Regions from separate parts of the Homo sapiens genome. Here region 1 is linked to region 2. Evidence: promoter capture Hi-C in 16 types of primary human blood cells and fetal thymus (Javierre and others, 2016). All regions are on one chromosome and are shown on one strand. The core of a region is centred on a gene start or on the middle of the fragment in contact, and the rest is flanking DNA. Distances in the headings are between cores, read along the strand shown. Region 1 overlaps OBI1-AS1 (OBI1 antisense RNA 1). Region 2 holds the start of EDNRB (endothelin receptor type B).

Region 1 (7,508 bases), core at 53-2,552, 170 kb after region 2:
GAACTTGTTGGCATGTAATTGTTTATAGTAGTCTTATGATTCTTTGTGTCTCTGTGATATCAGTTGCAATATCTCCTTTTTCATTTCTGATTTTATTAGTCTTGTATCTTTTTTCGTAGTCTAACTAAAGATTTGTTGACTTAATCTTTTCAAAAATATCACCTGTTAGTTGTTCTTTCTGTTGCTTTTCTAGTCTATTTAATTTATTTCTGCTCTGGTCTTTATTATTTCCTTTCTTCTGCTAACTTTGGGCTTAGTTTGCCCTTGTTTTTCTAGTTCCTTGAGGGTGACATTAGGCTCTTTATTTTGGATCTTTTTCTTTTTTGATGTAGGCATATATTGTTATAAACTTCCCTCTAAGAACTGTTTTTGCTGCATCTCTTAAGTTTTAGCATGTTTCTATATTCATTTGTTTCAAGATACTTTACATTTTTCTTCTAACTTCTTCATTGATTCATTGGTTGTTTAGGAACATGTTGTTTATTTTCTTATATTTGTGAACTTCTCAAATTTCTTCCTGTTACTGATTTTCAGTTTTATCCCCTTGTGATTGGAAAAGATAATTGATATGATTTCAACTTTCTTAGATTTGTTAAGCTTGTTTTGTGGCCTAACATAACCTATCCTGGAGAATGTCTTATGTACACTTGAGAAGAATGTGTATTCTGTTGCTGTTGAATAGAATATTCTGCATATATCTGTTAGGTCAATTTGGTCTAAATAAAGTTTAAGTCCAATGTTTCAATGCCTTATTTTTACTCGTGGAATTTATCACAACTTTATGTTGTATTTCTTAACTGTCTTCCTTTCTTTGGAGTTATAAGCTCTAAAGGAGCAAGAATTTGTTTCTTATCTTCTTTACTGCCTAGAGCAGTCATTGGAGTGTATTAATCATTCAATGAATAAATGTATTAATCATTCAATGAATAAATGTATTAATCAACAAAGAACTGAAACTAAAAGCCTAACCCAAGGTTACAAATCCTGTAATAGCTAAAAGCAGAATTCGACCTGACATGTTTAACTCAAACCTAGTGTTTATTCTATTATACCAGTAATGTCACAGTATTTATTTGTATAAACTCGGAATATCTTTCTTGGGGAAAGGAAGCAAGTGCTTGGTTAGGGAATGGTAAAAACCCATTATCAGCGATAGTATTGAGATTTGAAAACCAAAGCTGATATGTTTCAGGTTACTGTGTTCCATTTGCAATGCTTATATTCTGAATGTCTATTAAATAGTGAGGTTGAAGAGGTCTATGGGATGTGAGTATTACTTGCATCCCAGTAATTCTAGCACATATTATTTTGGAGCTGAAGCTATAGGAACAATATCTTCTTGTGTCGAGGTAACCTAAAACAGTAGTGAGAAAGTAGCACTACTGGAAGATATCACCTGTCACTTGGTGGCTACAGGTTTTCAGACTTAATGCGTAGAAAAGAGTCTTACCTTGAAACCCCAATCCTAAATATAGTAGACTTTTCCTGGTATTGACTAAGTTATCAAACTCTGGATTTACAATTAATCTGCAAAATAATTCAAACAATTCCCTAATACCTAGCTCTTTATCATGAAAATGTGCCATTGGTCTTGAAACAGTTGATGCTTTGCCCACATGAAAAAAAAAGCAGTGGTATCAATAGCCAACACCACTTAGCTAAATGACCTTGTTCCTAGAAACAACTGCTTAACACTATTGTGTACAGAGTCCTGGACATACTGTAACTTTTCTGATTATCACAATGCACCAAAATACATCATCTACTAATGCACTGTATATAAATCCAAACATGCTTATTCCAAGGAGAATGTCTCTCCCTCCCTAATTTTACTTTGGTAGATTTATTTCCTTTTTGGGAAAACGCATTTTCCTCCCTTTCCAAATATTTAGGTCAGTGAACTCATTTCTGGAATTCAGAAGTCTAGAGACTTTAAGATTTGGCAGAGAAGTTTTGAGACTGTCAGTTAAATACAATGAGTTTTGCATTCTCTAATGAAATAAAAATGTAAGCTTACATATCCAGCCTTACTTCAACATTCTGTACTACCACTAAAAGAGAGCATTTTGTGTCAGATCTAAAAGTCAGGAACCTTATGTTACACTGGTTTATGACTAAGTCAAATCTATATCTGCCCTCTAAATAATATATCTTATTATATCATCACTTGAGAGGGGATGAAGGCCAGAAGGATGTATATCAAGTGAGTTCACTGGCATATTGCAATAAAGTACACTGGCAGTTAAATAATAAGTAACAGAAAACTTTCAGAACTCATAATGAAAAAAATTCAATTGCCTTTCTTTGGATAATACAGAGAAAACAGAACAATCAAAAGACAAAATATAAATTTAAAAAGCTCTCAGGCTGTTTTAATAATTCTATTGCAATTGGTAGTTCTCTGTACACAAGAAGAAAGATAAAGCATTTGGCTTTATAAATATTATATATAGATAATTTTTCATTTTGCTTTACATATGTATTTTATATTTCAAAATAAAATACATGTAATAATTATCACAAAACACTTAACATTTTTATTGAGAACCTGTAAGGTGCCAGATCCTCAGGAAACTGAGACCTAGCAGGTTAATTTGCTTAGCTAGGACATAGATTCCATGGTACACCAAGCTGACTCCAAAGTGCAGAATAGCTAATATTTATTGCGTGTTAGCTAATTATGAAGTACTCTACCAAGCTCTTACTCCTCAGAACAACTCCATGAGGCAAGTACTACAGATATGAACATCCCTGCTTTACAGATGATTAGAACAAGGCTTAAAATGTATAACTAACTGTGCCAAAAAGCTGCACAGCCAGCCTGTCATGGAGTTCAGACATGAGCCCAGTACTGTCAGCCAGAATCTCTGAGTTTTGAGAACCCCTTTATGTAGAGAACACCCTATTTCCTTGCAGTGGCCAAGGCGGCCGCAAAGGTTGGGAGGTGGGGGTGAGAATGGAAGTGGTGGATTGTAGGCTAAGTGAGACTTCCACGCAGACCTTCCTGTCCTGTGTGTTCCCCCTGTAGCGGCTCCCTGAAATGACCTCTGATGCTTCCCAGGGAAGAGGCTTAGTTGAAAGCCTTGAATGATAATGCCTGCAAATGATCATTTCCCTTCCTTTCCCTCTCCTTCCCACCTCCCTTCCCCTTTTCCTTAAGGTGAACGTGTCAGCTTATTTTTCAATTTTATTAGAGCATGCAACACCTAGGTTGAACAGGCAAGAGTGTTAAGAGTGAGAAAACAATTAACTACAGCAAATAGAATGCAGAAGTTTTCTCCTTTTTGTGTTTAATTCCACCCGAGTTGGCCACTGAAAACCTGCTGACTCACTCTCATTTTACTTTCTTTTCTGTAATTGCTTAAAAAGTATACTCCAAAACTAACTGTCACCCAATTCACTTAGTCAATGTTGTGGGAATGTCAACTATCGTATTCCATGAGGAAATTCTATCTCTGATGCCATCTTTGGGGGGCAGGTGTTATAATTTGTTTATACAAAGGTCAATGTCAGGCTCCGTGACTTCTCTATTTTCCATGACTATAAGATAGCACACTCTTTTCTTTGCATGAGGGTGTGTTAGTGTGTTCTCATATAAGAAAGAAATAATTGGATCTAGTGTTTTCTTTTCTCAATCTTTTATTTTATCTTTGGTTAACATGTTCTTATCAAAGTCATGATACAGAGTACCAATTGCCAATCCAGTACTCCTTATCTTCCACCTTACTAATAGAATGCCAATTTTTAGCTGGCCATAGGGCCACTTGGAATAAAGATAACAATTCCAAGGCTGCTCAGGGCTGTTGTACCTAACCATTTAGACCTGTGAGGGTAGATGTGTTGTGAGAGACTTGAAGAAGGCCCTTTAAAAGACACTTAGAAACAAACTCATTTTGACTTCTATTCTTTTTGCTCTCTGGAATGTGGGTGAGATGGTTGAAACTCCAGCATCCACCCTAGAACATGTGGTTATCTTGAGTATGGAAACAACACACCAAAAATGGCAGAGGAGAAAGATAGAGGAGTCTGGGCATCTAGTGACTTCATGGAGCTGCCACACCAATCCTGGACTTCCTAACCCTTGTCTTCTTTTCTGTAAGAAAATGACCATTTGAGTGTTTGAGCCACTGTTATTTTGAGATTATTTCCATTTCTAACTGATGTAAGACCATTTTTAAAAGAAAAATGATTATAATTTTGGGGGAGGGGCCATGTGTAGTATGCTAAACTTGGTTGGTTATAAATAACCATATAAGCCCCACAATAGCCCTATATAACGATGAATATAACCACCACTTCAAAATTATAGACAGTAAGGCTTGGAAAGACATGTTTGAGGATTTACTCAGTCCATGCAGCTAGTTAAAAACAAAGACACAATTTAAACTCAAATCTGTATATTTAGATTCTGGATCCTATTATTTTCTCTTTTTACTATTCTTGCTTCTTGTGGCAGTTTGTTCATATCACAACAAACTCTCTTCGATTCAGATCCTACCTCTGACTTTTCTGACCTTTGTTCATTTAACTCTAAGCCTCAGTATCCCCATCTGGAAAACAGGATTACTAGGAGTGCATATTTCTTACGATTTGGGGAGCTCAAGTATGTTAACTAATGAGAAACACTTATTAAAATAGCTTATACATATAATGCTCTCAACAAATAGTTTTATTGTGTAATTTTATTATATTTACACTGTATTAGAGTTAATAATTTCTATGCCTGTTTTACTCAATAGATTCTAAGGGTCTTGGTGGCAGGAAATATACTTTTGTCATCTCTGTGTCCTCTGTACATTTTGAACAATGCTTTGCAATTTGTAAGTGCTCTATAAATGTTAGTTGAATTTAACTTACTTGGGAAGCAGTCTTGTGGGACTTATTTTGCTGATAGTTTGTTTAAACTTTATTTTTATGCTCATTTAGGTATATTTCATGGTCATTTTCATGATCTATATGAATAGTTAAGTCTGAAGAATACAATTTGCCTGAGTGAAACAGAGGTCATTTATCAGTCATTTCTTTAATCTTAAGTTAATCTTCAGCTAATGAGATTTAGCCATAAAAGCATTAATTTATAAAACATTCTGAGATGCAAAAACTGTTTCATGGCCAATATTAACCCTTTTGAAATATTTACACCAAATTCTACTTTAATGTTTATCATTGACTTATGAGAAATAAAGAAACTCTCTGTGTCATTTGTACTTAACTATAAAATACAAGATAATCTTTGTTTTGCCCATGTGAAACAGTTCCTAAACTGACAAACTTGTTCATTATACTCAAATCTCAATTGATGTTGCCAAAATGCATCAAACTAGTTCTTTCTTCAAAAGCCTATCCCATAAGTATTTCTATCATAAAATGTAAATAACTAAAAATTTGCATAAATATTTATTTTTCTCTTAGACATACTTCAATAGGACAATCTCGGGTCAGAATGTGTGATGCTGTTAAAAGAAAACTTAAAAGTAAAATGCAGTTCAGTGTCCCTGGGGATCTCACATTTTAGGGCAGAATTCTCCAGAATTATCTTCTGTTATTTGTTAAAGTAACATGTGAACTTTGGAAGAGATGGCATCTTTCAGCCAAGGAAATATCAATGCTAAGAGCATGAACTTGAATTTAAACCAATTAAAACAAAATTATATTTATTTGGCAAGATAAAGGTATTTCTGATAAGTAAACAAACAAAATGTTACTTTATCTCATTCTTTACAACTAACAGAGGATTTGATTGTAGCTATTTGATAATCAACAACGCGACTTTCCCACATGATGCATTTTGTACACTGCCAGAAGCAAAATGGAAGATTTGGCTCTAGCCCTTCACCGGAGATGGTAGACTCCTATGTGATCAGTTTACAAACTTTGCTTCTGGCATACTCCTAAATTAAAGAGTTGGTTATGGAGACTCTACAATCAGATTTTACCATGACTGAGACAGTATTTTGAAAACAATTATTTGATGCTTCTGTTCTTGTCTCCCACAAGTTATCTTCCTGGGAAGCCATTATACTATATATCTAGGGAAACAGTGTGAATAGATGCTTCCAAGGGAAGGAGATGCCAGAACATGAGCAGTGAGCAAGACAACCAGCGACACTCTAACTGCAGAGGCCAGAGAACCTCTGTGGGCAGCACCGGTCCCCACTGCGAATCCACAGAGAACTTCTGGACTTTCCTTCACCCAGATGAGGTTTTAATCAGCTTCTGAAACAATTCCTTTGCAGGGAAGGAAGGGTGGTAGGAGAAAAGGTAGAGAACAGAAAAATAAAATCTGTCTTTATAACATACTTTGGCTAAATAATTTTAAGGACATCTCCTTTTAAATCAACAAAATCTTCATACTTCAGGCCAAGAAATTTATAAAATAATTTTCATATGTTCCTTAGGCATATTTTTCCTGTCTGGAAATTCAACTTAGGTACTTTTATATCTTCCTTGTTTCTTCTTAACGTAATGTGTAAGTCTATATGTAAGTACTATATACACATATAAGTTCTAAATGTATGCTCATAGAAATACAAATACTGTATGTAAGTATATATAATACTATGTATAACTGCTATACTTATTATAAGTACTACTTAAATATAGTTTCCTTACCCCATTTTTAACAGTCATTGATTAACCAATTGAAGATTATCCTATAGTTTATTTTTTTCATTACCTTCAATGTAATGATGCCATTCTAGTTTTATAAAACCAGGTGACAATATTACATTCTCTAAAATTTCTTTAGACAAATACTGAATGGGGACAAATACTGAATGGGGAAAAACTGAAAGCTTTTCCTCTAAGATCTGGAACACTACAAGGATGCCCACTGTCACCACTGTTATTCAACATAGTATTGGAAGTCCTAGCTAGAGCAATCAGACAAGAGGAGAAATAAAGGACATCTAAATTGGAAAGAAAGAAGTTAAATTATCCTTGTTTGCAGATGACATGATTTTATAATTGGAAAAACCTAAACACTCCACCAAAAAAACTACTAGAACTGATAAAACAAATTCAGTAAAGTTGCAGGATACAAAAATCAACATACAAAAATCAGTAGCATTTCTATATGCTAAGAGTGAACAATCTAAAAAAGAAATAAAAAAAGTAATTCCATTTAAAATAGCTACAAATAAAATAAAATAAAATACCTTGAAATTAACCAAAGAAATGAAATATCTCTACAATGAAAACTATAAAACATTGATGAAAACAACTGAAGAGGACACACAAAAATCGGAAAGACATTCTATGTTCATGAATTGGAAGAATCAATCTACAGATTTAATTTAATTCTGACCAAAATACCAATGACATACTTCACAGAAATAGAAAAAAGTCCCAAAATTTACATAGAATCACACAAGACCCAGAGTCGTCAAAGATGTCCTAAACAAAAAGAATAAAACTGGAGGAATCATATTACCTGTCTTCAAATTATACTAGAGAGTTATAGTATACTGGCATGGTACTGGCATAAAAACAGACACATAGACCAGTGG
Region 2 (6,632 bases), core at 3,195-5,694:
ATTCTTATAAAACTTAACATTTTAATGTATGTACATGTACACGTGCATATATATTTAAATAAATATCTCCTTTGGATGCCTGAAGTTTTCATTGTTCTTCTGGTTGGTGTTGTGTAATGTAGGCATAGCCCTAGTGTGTGCCTATGAGAAGCGTAAGCAACGCTTATTATTTTCTGCATGTTTACATGAGTTTAAAGTTCTTCAGCAGCCTCAACTTGCTAAGTGTCCTCAGACACTTCCCTAGCCTTCAACACAGGATTTCACCCACAACACAGGAGACCTGTGAGAGTGGTATGATTCTTCCTAAAAGTTTCCAGGGACCCAGCTCCTTGAGGAAGTCCAGGCAGATCAGACATGTTTCCCAATGCTTTTCAGCTTCCCACTGCAGCAACTCCAGATAAAGTCCCACCAATTCCACAGCCTGAAGACTGTAGCTTCCAATAAGAGCTATGACATTTTGTGATTTGTCAACTTTACTGAACTCTATATTCATTAAACTCTAGATTAATGGAATAGATTCACATTGACATTTCTGGGCCTCTGGGCCCTTAGTGTGCCAACAAGAGAGTAGGAGAATTTCACAAACCCCCAGAAATTGTGTATATTGAATTCTCAAAGAGAATTATAAAACCCCACCAAAAAAATTAGAAATCACTGGTTTAGATTTAAGCCTCTCATATTAGGATATATTAAATATAGCCTTCATAACTCATTTAAATTACTTTTTTCTGAATGATCATACCTGACTACTCTGAAATTCTAAATGCATTAAAAAAACTACGTTGCCACAATTATTTAGGAGAATAAATGGCTTTTAACTGGTCCTGGATTTGATATTTTGGTAAATTAAGCCATTAGAATAACTTCCACTGATATTACACACTACAGACCAGCTGAAGGGGGTTTCAAGAGACCGAAATCCTGACTCAAATTAATTTCTGAAAATGTTTACCAAGTATTCTACTGTGGGATAGCATATTATTTGCCATAATTCCACCAAATGCTCCCAAATGAGATCCTAAAACAATACTCAAGGTTGGAGATGACCATGCAGTGCCTGAGCATGCTTTGTGCAGTGGGATGGGGTGGACCACAGGGTCTTGGGCTGGATGATCTGCTTTCAAGCCCCAGTTTCATTACTTTGTAGTGGTATGACATTAGGCAAGTTACTTCTTCACCTCTCTGACAAGTAGTTTGCCTAGATCTAAAGCAGGAATGATAACGATACCTCCTCTACAGGGTTGTTATAGTGACTTAATGAAATAAACCAAGTGCCTAGTGCATCATTAACTGGTAGCCATTATTATGATATTGTGTCTCAAGCTAAACCTAAGGCCACAAGGTAGGATTCAATAATGATGACCTTAGTGATGGGACGTAATGTGATGAATGTGTTTGTGACCCATGTAGATTAATGGATGGACAGATTTATAATGACTCATTGGCTTATTTCAGAAGTAAAAACACAGTCATGTTAAGACTGGATGGCTTCAGGGAAAAGGATGTAACTTCCTAGGGAAATCATATGGGAGTTTGAAATGAAAGGGAAACTGTATGACCTCTTGGGGAGTCAGAAATTCTCTAGTTTATTACAAATACTCATTTAACCAGACAGAGGAAATAAGATGGTTCTGGAAGAGCTGATTTATATCTGTCCTGGAGGCAGCACACCAGAACTAAAAAAATGTTCTCAATCCCACCTTCTACACAGCACTTCAGCTACTGTCTGATTTAGAAAGGTTTCTAACTGGGCTGGACATGTGGGGTTTCCTGACCCCCTAAACAGAACTTTCATAAAATCCTGTGCCAACCTAGCAAAACTAGATTTTAATCTCCCTTTGGGAAGAGATCTTGTTAGATTTATTTTAAATTTATCACAACACCTTGTACTGAAAAGTTCTCAATTCGGTTTTGATGAATTGAATTGAAATTCCTTTGCCAAATTAGAATGGGAAGATTTAGTTTGTGGGACGCCTTAAGAAGTAAAAGGGTCACTTCTGGCCCTCATGGAGTTGTGGCTGCATTTAGAGATTCAATTTCAGCTCTTACCAAGTAAATCCTCACAGTTCATCAGAATCAATTGCCATACAGGATTTTAGGATTTCTTCAATCGATTCCCCCATTTCCGGGGGTGATTCCCTTTAGAGAAAACTATATCCTAATCCACTCTCACCGCTAAACCTCAGAAATGTTCGGAATTCCCCTTAAAATATAGCTATTGGGTTAGGATTTTTAGAGATTTATGAAGGGAAATTTACAGGCATGCCTTATGGTAACTACTCCTGCCAATAGGTCAAAGCATTCCCTACAACATTTCCCAACTTTACATTCCATTTTTTTCCCCTTGTACTGAAGTACTGAAGTCAGGGCTAGCTATAGGCAAATCTGCAAAGCACAATTCCATTTCCTTACACTGTGATTGTGTTTTTATGTGCAACTTTCTATTGCTGCTGCTGCTGCTGCTGCTGGGAAAGTTTTAAATATTTTCATATGTCTTTGAAATTTTCCAACTGTTTTATTTAGACTGCTTTTTTTTTTTTAACACCATAAAGCCTCAGTAAGTGGGCACTGGCAGCCTTATTGTGGAATTGAGGAAACTGAGGCCCAGAGGTGCTGGGATGTGTCTGGAGTTCCAAAGCAACCTGGAGCAACCTGGCTCTTTGTGTGTTTCTACTGACGCCCATGGTAATCACACAATAATGTTAACTACCGAAACCCTTACAGATTTTGAGTGCTCCTTGGTCTTGTCCATGAAATAATTGATGGGGTGCCATCATATAGCTTGCACTTTGGAACCTGACAGATTGGGTCTGATCCCCAGCTCCACCTCTAATTCATTTACTTTGATCATCCTACCAGTCATCTGTAAACTAATTGTAATATCTACTTGTGGGCTGCTGGAAGGAATAATGGAAGTAACACATCTCACCCAGTCCTTGGCCCACTGTAGATATTTAATACAAAGTAGCTACAGTCCGTCACAGCAGGTGAACTGTGTTTTTCCTACTCACCAGTCTGGATCTCTTTTTTCCAGGCCATTTATTTCCTAAATACCTACTTTGTACCTGCTACTTTCAAAGTCTTCCAAAACAGTCCTTCCCAAAGTTAGTGGGCATATCAATCACATGAAGATCTTAAGATGCAGATTCTAACTTAGTAAGTCTGAGGTAGCCTTGCATTCCTAACAAACTCTCAGGTAATATTGATGCTGACTGTCCATGGACCACACACTTTTGACTAGAGGATGTACCCCATTAGGTGCACTTAGGGACTAGATCCTTCAGGACTAGTGGTTCTCAAACTTTACAGTTCATCATAATCACATAAAGGGCTTGTTAAAATACAAATTACTGTGCTCCACTCCAGAGTTTCTGATTCAGTAGGTCTGGGGTGAGGCCAGAAAAATCTTCATGTGCACCAAGTTCCCAAAGTGATACTAACATTGCTAGACTGGGGACTACGCTTGTCCTAAGCTTAGCAGAGGTCTACTGAAGACCTGAATGGAATTTTATTCCAATGGTTACTGACTTTTATGAGTGGACAGAACCAAATGGAATTTGGTTCCAAAGATTACTGACTTTTAGGAGGGGCAGAACCTTAAGAGGGAGCTAAAGGGAAGCTCCCTCTACAAGCTTTCTCATCTCCCCGTCTCCAACCAGGCCCCCTTCCTCAAGCCCACCATGATTTCAGCAGGCGCCCTTTACCTTGTAGACATTGATAGGGATGTCAATGACGATGTGCAGCAGGTCTCCCAGAGCCAAGCTGGCGATCAAGATATTGGGACCGTTTCGCATGCACTTGTTCTTGTAGATAATTCTCAGAAGTGTGGAGTTCCCGATGATCCCCAGCACGAACACAAGGCAGGACACAACCGTGTTGATGTATTTGAAAGTCTCCTTGATCTCGATGGGTCCTTGGCACGGGGGAGGGGAGATGGTGCGTGGCGGAGATCCTGCCGTCCTGTCTCCTTTAGGCACCTCCGCAGGTGCCAACGACCGCGCCAGACTGGCGTTGGAACCCTTGGGCCATAAGGTCTTAGTGGGTGGCGTCATTATCTCTGCGGTTTGCAAAAGCGGAGTGGCCCTGTCAGGCGGGAAGCCTCTCTCCTCTCCCCAGATCCGCGACAGGCCGCAGGCAAGAACCAGCGCAACCAGGGCGCGTCCGCACAGACTTGGAGGCGGCTGCATGCTGCTACCTGCTCCAGAAGGCGTCCGGTGGCCGCTCCGCAGTTTCAGAGCCTAGAGACAAGCAGAGGAAGGAAGACAGGACACTTGGGTCAGCTGCCCGAGCCAAGTCGCTGCAAACGCTAATACCGCCCGCAGCCTCTTCGCCAGTATCCACGCTCAAAAGTAACTCAAGTTTGCGCGCCAGTGGGAAACTTGGCGCTCATGACTCGCCAGCGCGGGTCGAAACTCCTTCCTGATGCCCTCTCAGCTGTTTTTCTTCCCCCGCGTGGCCAGGAGGGGTAAATAATATGCAGTGGGGCGGGGCGTTCTGGAAGGGGTGTGCCAGGGAGGGAATGATGGGGGTCCCAGGCAAAGCTCCGAACTCTTTCACGTAACGGGAGGAATACAGACACGTCTTAGTTAAGCGTGCGTGGGAACCGCGGAATTAAGGCACCTAGAGGCCAAGGGCTTGTGTCAAGCTCTGCATTTTGCCCCGCAGGGGAACCTCTATACCCCGCGATTGAACTCGAAAGACTCCTCCCGGCGGATGAAAGCCGCTACTCCCTGGCTGGCTGAGCTACAGCTCCCGCAGCGCGCCCAGGAGTGCGCCGGAGATTCGGAAACCCGCAGAGACTTCTCAAGTCAGCAGGAACTTGGAAACCGCTGTTCCCTCCAAACGGCTTCAAACACTCGCGCTCCTTCCTTTACCCAACCTAATTTTAATTTGCCCTCTCTATAGGCTTAATTTTTATTTTTTTAAAATCCCAAACTAGTAAGCCAAACCGAAGCCCCAGAATAAGGTTCAATCAATGATTTTAATTCAACACCAAGCCCGAATGTTTACCTCTCGGATCTGACAAACCAGATGCAGAGCGACGAATGGAGACCACCTTCCCGGGAGGCGGAACCCAGCTGGGTTCCAGCCTGCTCTGGGAGAGGAGCACGCCTCCCTTGAGCTGCAGGCGGGTCCGGCTCTGACGAAACGCTGCGAGAATGCCAGACAGTGTAGCCTCCACCGTTTGCTCGGGGTCTCTGCTGCCATCAGACAAGTACTTTTATTCATTCATCCCTTCCCATCAATCACCGCCAGACTCCTCCCGCGCCTTCCGACCCCGCTGCAACCTTTCCCCTTGGGCGATGCCTGGACAGCATCAGTAGTAGTTGCCCGAGGGAGGGGGGCAGTCCTCGTCCGGGGACAGGTCCCAAAAGGCTGTTTATTTGTTAGAGTTCTACGCTCTTCAAATGAACCCAAATCAAGGGCAAGTTATCACGCACCATGTGACACCCGGCAGCTCCAGACTAGAACAAGGCTCTGCACTGAACGTGATAATTGAACTTTTAATGCCAAGTGTCACTTTTCTTTCAGGTAAATGTTCCGCCGCTGTGATATTTAAGGTTGGTTTGTGGGCGCTGCTCTTTGCTCTGCTTCATTTTGCCCTGAAGTTTCATTTCAAGCCAACATTAACCCCAACACGGAACAGCTCGATCTTTTCTTCCCAGGCCCTCTCACTGCCCCGAGAGAGGATTACAAGTACTCCTCATTTTCCCCAGTACAGCTCTTCTCCTCTCTTCCTGCCACAGTATCGGTGTTAGGCAATCTCAGGCATTTTTATACTGTACCTATGACAGACTTGATGCTTATCGGAGACATGAAAATAATCAGAAAGCTGCCATGCAAATTCAACATGATATTTATTTACCAGGTAGAGCAATACAATAAGGTCTTTCTATCCATTCTTGAGCTCCATGTTTACCGCAGAGAGGAAAATAACAGCGACTGGTAGTTTTGCCCAGAGATTGTATAAAAGAGGTCAGGAAGTCAGGCTTGGAGATGCACTGGAGAGTACTGTGCCGTCCTCCAATCAGCAAAATCCCTACTGGATCTGTGGAACTTCAAACCCAGAAGCACCCATTCCATGTAGCAGTTTCACCCAGAGACAGGAGGCTCGTTTTTTGCTTCATGTTAGTTAATGGAATAGATGGGACAAGAACCTTGGATTTTTGGCTCTTAGGCAATGCTTTCTGGGACAGTGGAAGTAGAAAATCAATTTCTATTTAAAAAGGTGAACTTTAAGTGTGAAATGTGGTTAGGAACATGGTTACGGAGTAAGGCTAAAGGAATGAGAAATATGGTCTAGGGTTGTGAGTGCTAATTCCAAATCTGGCTATTTTGAATTGCAGTCCTTATCCTCCCTGTCTCGTAAGAACGAGGTCAACATTCAATTGCTGAGCCAAGTAACAATATACAATGTTGTCTGAATAAGGAATTATATGGAAGCTTTGGAATATGAATATTTTGCTTAGTTGACTCCACCCAGTGTTGGATCTGCCCTTCCTATACAAGCTTTGTTGGGTTCATGCCTATGGCTCCTGTGGGGTGACTTTTCTCTCTCCCCACTGGCCTTCTCATCATCTCCATCTCCATTCAAATTTCCTCCACTGAGTCCTGGAAGTCTGCTCTAATCC

What was found. Contacts are between HindIII fragments. The CHiCAGO score rates a contact against its expected background, and 5 or more counts as called.
Region 1: a fragment that was not itself captured here is called in contact with the fragment with the promoter of EDNRB in region 2 in 1 of 17 cell types (M1 macrophages); the score reaches 6.4 in M1 macrophages.

What each region holds. Positions count from the first base shown.
Region 1 is chr13:78,082,704-78,090,211 of GRCh38, forward strand. The region is part of intron 1 of OBI1-AS1 (OBI1 antisense RNA 1); the gene reads left to right. Among named protein-coding and RNA genes, the nearest start is that of OBI1-AS1, 32 kb to the left of the region's middle. The HindIII fragment of the contact is 1,415 bases long and covers 596-2,010 here.
Region 2 is chr13:77,914,387-77,921,018 of GRCh38, forward strand. It overlaps EDNRB (endothelin receptor type B), which reads right to left and starts at 4,445. Exons shown (of 7, transcript NM_001122659.3): 1 at 3,705-4,445. The coding sequence starts at 4,187. RefSeq lists promoters at 4,374-5,446, 4,436-4,550 and a cis regulatory region at 4,802-4,811. The HindIII fragment of the contact is 2,812 bases long and covers 3,631-6,442 here.